Linked DNA regions of Homo sapiens: region 2 is linked to region 1. The links are contacts of gene promoters, found by promoter capture Hi-C in blood cells and fetal thymus (Javierre and others, 2016). All regions are on one chromosome and are shown on one strand. Each heading gives the region's core, a stretch centred on a gene start or on the middle of the fragment in contact. The rest is flanking DNA. Distances are from core to core; before and after follow the strand shown. Region 1 holds the start of PPARD (peroxisome proliferator activated receptor delta). Region 2 overlaps FKBP5 (FKBP prolyl isomerase 5).

Region 1 (2,988 bases), core at 489-2,988:
AGGGAACAGAGCTCTGGGATTGCCGTTCCTCCTGGATACAGAGGAAATTAAGCTCCCAGGGAAAAAGAGGGACAATTTGGATTCCCTAGATTCAGAAAAGAACAAAGAAAAAAGAGGGAGAAGAGACTCCAAGAGAACATGTTCAGTGACCAACATCAGAGGCACATTCAGTTGGCCAAAGATTGTCAAAGAGATATGAGAGAAAATCAGCAGCTGTTTCAAGCCACCAATAATAAAAGGGGACAGATGCCCGCCAGCCCCAGGGCTATCAGGCCAGCAATCTATTTCAAAACTCAAACGGGAAAAAAAAAAGTTCTGGAGCCAGTACACAGAAAAAAGGTTGAGGACCACAAGTATTTTCTGGAGCACAGCTTCTGGAGAATTCTCTTAGTCCTTTCGGATGGAGCACAGGGTGGAGGGTGGGAGTGAGGGCAGAGAGAGGCTGGGGTATCATGGTATAAGTGTATTCCACACATCCAGAGTGGAAAGACACAAAACCCCGGTTCCTGGAAGGGGAAAAGAATTGGACAAAGCCTCCGGCTACCCGTGGCACACATCCAGCTCAGCGCCGTCTCCCCCAAGGGTTCCTGGAAGTCAACAGCCCCATAAAGGGGAAGTATTAAAGCTGAGATAAGAAGAATGGCCTACAAATTGGACATCATCTCTGATGCAACACCCACGTACATTCTCCCACACAATCTGTTATTTCCTTTAGTCAATCAGCCTCTTAATTCGATCAAGGTCTGAACACCTCCACCCCCACCCCATGGTTATGTCAACTGCAGGTCAAGTGAAAGTAGAGTAGAGTGTGGAGCTAAGGCTTCTCCCTGAAGCAGGGGAAAGGAACAGGGAGAGAAAAGGAGGTGGGCGACAGGAATGTAGGGGACAGAATTGATACGAAGGAAATCGGAAAAAGGAGCAAAAACAGGGCCTCTCAGGGAACCAAGGTGAGAGTCTTAGGGAGACAGGGACTGCAGGCACGGAGTTGGAAAAAGCCTAGGAACACCCTGGGGAAGAGGATGGGGACCCATAATACTAGGAGGGATCAGACCACAGATAAGAAGGGGACAGGGATGGGGAGAGAGAGTAAAGCCTGAGAGAGCAAGGATGGGAGGATGAAGGCAGGAGACAAGGATAACGAGGGGGACAGAGGAAAAGATCCCAGAGAAGACTCTCGCTAGATAGGGCAGTGGATTCAGGAACACCAGAAACGGGTGAAGGAAGAGGTCAGAGGCAGGGGAGGGGAATGGGAGAGGCCCCCGGGCCTGAGACGGGGTTCTCACAAGTGGGAGAAGACGAAGCCACCAGGCCCAAGAGGGGGCAAAGAGTAGGGTGGAAGGAGGCCCGTATTTCGGACTCACTCAAGCAGCTATGGGGGTCCAAGGGCGGGGGGGCGCAGGGTCAGCGGGGCGCCTACATGGCAACGCACGACGGCTGACCGGAGCGGGCCGGAGCATCAGGAAGCCGCCGTGACGCTGTCCGCGGACCCCGGCAGCTCCCCGCACCCCGTTCCCCGCCGCCGGGCCTTGCGCCCCAGTCCCGCTGGCCGCCTCGGCCCAGGCCCGGCGCTTCCCTCCGCCACTTGCCTGACCGCTTCTCTCGTCTCGGACTGACCTGTCCCGGCTGCCTACGGCGCCACCGCCGCCGTCCCGCAGGCTCCGCAGAATTCTCCCGCTCCTGCCAAAACTTTTCCCATTAATCCCCAGGTCCGCGGCGGCCGCAGCGTCACACGCTCCGCGGCCCGGCCCCGCCCCCGCCAGCGAGACGTCACCGCGCTGCTCGGCCTTTCCCTCCCCACGCCCCCTTCCGCCCGGCGGCGGCCAATCACCACGCCTCCTGGAGACTCCCCTAATTCTGCCTCTCCGCCCACCGCACGCTGCCCCGGGCCAGCCTGTGGCGCCCTCTGGTGCGGGATGCGGACGTAGCAGCTAAGGGAGGAGCAGGGGAGCGCCAGGTCCAGTAGAACAAGTCCAGCAAGTGACACAAGAGGGAATTTAAAGCTGGAAGGGAATTTCTAGGTCATCTAGTGCAACCTCCTCATCTTCCAGTGAAGAAACTTAGTCCTAGAAAAGGTACGTGACTTGCAGTGACAAGTCTGGAGAGACTCTTAACCCAGTGCTAGGTCCACTGGAGGAGATCATATCGCCTATAATTTTCAAAAAAGGGCTTTCCGCCTTCAAGAGGCTTCTACAACTGGAAATTTACGGTCTTAGAGTTCTTAACCTTTCTTCCCATGTGCTTATGCAATACGCTTATTCACCTAAAATAGGGGACATCCTCCTTATTGTTGTAGAAAATTCTGTTCTTATTAATCCACATCTTTAAGACCTGGAAGGGACCTATTATCCCAACCTACCGCTTAAGATGTACCACAGGAAACTACCTAGCAGCTGGGAGGCAATCTGGTGGAAGAAGTTGGCTTTCATCTGACGATGAACAAAGCTTGACTCTCAGGTATATGACCAATGCCTCCCCTCCATCATCATTAAAGATGACCCCTCCCCTCTCCTTCGGCCACACCTTCCGTAGGCCGCAAGCTCCTTAGGCCACACCTAGCTATCTGGATGAGTGATTTTTTTTTTTTTTTTTTTTTTTGAGACACAGTTTCACTCTGTCGCCCCTGCTGGAGTGCAGTTGCGCAATCTCAGCCCGCTGCAACCTCCGCCTCCCGGGTTCAAGCGATTATCCTGCCTCAACCTCCCAAGTAGCTGGGATTACAGGCATGCGCCACACGCCCAGCTAATTATTGTAATTTTAGTAGAGACAGGGTTTTGCCATGTTGCCCAGGCTGGTCTTGAACTCCTGGACTCAAGTTATCCTCCCACCTTAGCCTCCCAAAGTGCTGGAATTACAGGCGTGAGCCACCGTGCCTGGCAGGGATGAGTGATTTTTTCCCCCTTCTTTCTGCTTCTCTTTTTCTTTTTCTTTTTTTTCCCCTACTTTTTGAAATGCTTGTGCATTATATTTGTAACTTAGATGTCAACCTCC
Region 2 (2,988 bases), core at 226-2,725, 280 kb before region 1:
AAATGGTGTTGGAAAAGCTAGATATCCACATGTAAAAGAATGAAATTGGGTCCTTATCTTACACCATCTGCAAAAATTAACTCAAAATGGATCAAAGACCTAAATGCAAGATCTAAACCTTGCATTAGAAACCTTCCCATAAGAATATGGAGGAAGGCCGGGCACAGTGGCTCACACCTGTAATGCCAGCACTTTGGGAGGCCGAGGCGGGCGGATCACCTGAGGTTAGGAATTCAAGACCAGCCCTGACCAATATGGTGAAACCCCGTCTCTACTAAAAAAAAAAAAAAAAAAAAAAATTAGCTGGGCATGGTGGCGCATGCCTATAATCCCAGCTACTTGGGAGGTGGAGGCAGGAGAATCGCTTGAACCCGGGAGGCAGAAGTTGCAGTGAGCCAAGATCACACCATTGCACTCCAGCCTAGGCAACAAGAACGAAACTATGTCTCAAAAAAAAGAAAAAAGAAAAGATAAAGAATATGGAGGAAAGGCTTCATGACATTGGATTTTGCAGTGGTTTCTTGGCATGACATCAAAAGTACAGGCAACAAAAGTAAAACAATTAAACATAAATTACTGTACATCATAAATTAAACATAAATTAGAATACATCAAAATTAAAAACTTTTGTGCATCAAACAGTAACAGAATGAAAGGCAGCCTATGGAATGGGAGAAAAATGTTTGCAAATCTTATATCTGATAAGGGATTAATACCCAGAATACACAAACAACTCCTATAACTCAACAAAAACAACAAAATAGCCCAATTTAAAAATGGGTAAAGGACCAGTTGCAGTGGCCATACCTGTAATCCCAGCATTTTGGGAGACCTAGGTGGGAGGGTCACTTAGACGCCAGGAGTTCAAGACCAGTCTGGGCAACATAGCGATACCCTGTCTCTAAAAACTTTTTAAAAACTGGGCAAAGGGCTTGAAATTTCTCCAAAGAAGATATAAAAATGGACAACAAGCATATGAAAAGATGTTCAACATCACTAATCATTAGGGAAATGCAAGTCAAAACCACAGTGAAGTATTACCCTCATACCGGTTAGAATGGGTACTGTTAAAAAAAGAGAAAACAACAAGTGTTGATGAGGATGTAGAGAAATTGGAACCCTTATGCGCTGTTGGTGGGAATGTAAAATAGTGCAGCTGCTGTGGAAAACGGTATGGAAGTTCCTCAAAAAATTAAAAATAGAGTTACCATGTTGATCTAGCAGTTCTACTTGTGGGCATATAACCAACAGAATTGAAAGCAGGGTCTTGAAGAGATATTTGTACACTCATGTTTGTAGCAGCATTATTAACAGCAACCAAAAGGTGGAAGCAACTCAAGTGTCCTTCAATAGATGAATAGATAAACAAAATGTGATATAAACGTACAGTGGAATATTTACGTTTTAAAGAAAAATTCTGGCAGATGCTACAACATGGACGAACCTTGAGGGCATTATACTAAGTGAAGTAATCCAGTGACAAAAAGAAAAGTACTGTCTGATTCCACTTATATGAGTTATCTATCCAGAGTAGTCAAATTCATAAAAACAAAGTAGAATAGAAGTTGCCAAAGATTAGGGAAGGAGGAAATGCTTAATGGGTATAAAATTTTAGTTTTGCAAGATGAAAAAGTTCTGGAGATTGGTTGCACAACAATGTGAATATACTTAAAAATAGTGAACTGTGCACTTTAAAATAGCTAAGATGGTAAATGCTTTTTTTTATCCCCCCACAATTAAGCGTTTTTTTTAAAACTCAAGGAGAAAACATTATGTAGTCAGAATGTTCTGAAGTGGTCACTATAGTCTTTACTATAAATGAAACTGTTAAGTGATTAAAATGTTGTATCTTAAAATATGTTATATAATTTTTTTAAACCAGAAAAAAGTGTAACATTACAGAAGGAAGAAAAAGTATAATGCATTGCTTTTATACTGGGCTTTGTATGCTTTTAAACTTTTTCACCTGCCTATAGTTACATACGTATAAAAAGCATTTAAATTTAGTAATAGCTATATTATACATTTGTATACATATATATTCTTGTTTTATATTTTATTACAAATGGAATAAGACTCCTGAAATTGATAAATTGTGTATAAGCTAGTAAAACTGAAGTCCAGATCAAGTGTAAGAATAAATTGACGTGGCCAGGCACGGTGGCTCACGCCTGTAATCCCAGCACTTTGGGAGGCTGAGGCAGGCGGATCACGAGGTCAGGAGATCGAGACCATCCTGGCTAACACGATGAAACTCCATCTCTACTAAAAATACAAAAAATTAGCCAGGAGTGGTGGCTAGCGCCTGTAGTCCCAGCTACTCGGGAGGCTGAGGCAGGAGAATGGCGTGAACCCGGGAGGCGGAGCTTGCGGTGAGCAGAGATAGCGCCACTGCACCCCAGCCTGGGCGACAGAGCGAGACTCCATCTCAAAAATAAATAAATAAATAAATAAATAAATTGACATTATGTATTCTTGGTGTGTTTTTTTTTGAGACGGAGTCTTGCTCTGTCGCCCAGGCTGGAGTGCAGTGGCGCAATCTCGGCTCACTGAAAGCTCCGCCTCCCGGGTTCACGCCATTCTCCTGCCTCAGCCTCCCGAGTAGCTGGGACTACAGGCACTCACCACCACGCCCGGCTAATTTTTTGTATTTTTAGTAGAGACGGGATTTCACCGTGTTAGCCAGGATGGTCTCAATCCTCTGACCTCGTGATCTGCCCACCTCATCCTCCCAAAGTGCTGAGATTACAGGCGTGAGCCACTGCACCGGCCTATTCTTGGTGTATGTTACCTATGACTGAGATCCTGAAGATGAAGAATCTTTAAAATGTTTATGCTTTGGGGGTTGGGCATGGTGACTCACACCTGTAATCCCAGCACTTCGGGAGGCCGAGGTGGGCAGACCACTTGAGGTCAGGAGTTTGAGACCAGCCTGACCAACGTGGTGAAACCCTGTCTCTACCAAAAAATACAAAAATTACCTAAGCG

What was found. Contacts are between HindIII fragments. The CHiCAGO score rates a contact against its expected background, and 5 or more counts as called.
Region 2: a contact is called between a fragment that was not itself captured here and the fragment with the promoter of PPARD in region 1, in 1 of 17 cell types (naive CD4 T cells). The highest score is 5.2, in naive CD4 T cells.

The regions. Positions count from the first base shown.
Region 1 is chr6:35,341,308-35,344,295 of GRCh38, reverse strand. It overlaps PPARD (peroxisome proliferator activated receptor delta), which reads right to left and starts at 1,738. Exons shown (of 8, transcript NM_006238.5): 1 at 1,615-1,738. RefSeq lists silencers at 1,277-1,326, 1,357-1,496, 1,677-1,886. The HindIII fragment of the contact is 7,732 bases long and covers 1-2,444 here.
Region 2 is chr6:35,625,240-35,628,227 of GRCh38, reverse strand. All of the region lies in intron 3 of FKBP5 (FKBP prolyl isomerase 5), which reads left to right. Among named protein-coding and RNA genes, the nearest start is that of MIR5690, 38 kb to the left of the region's middle. The HindIII fragment of the contact is 3,458 bases long and covers 1-2,988 here.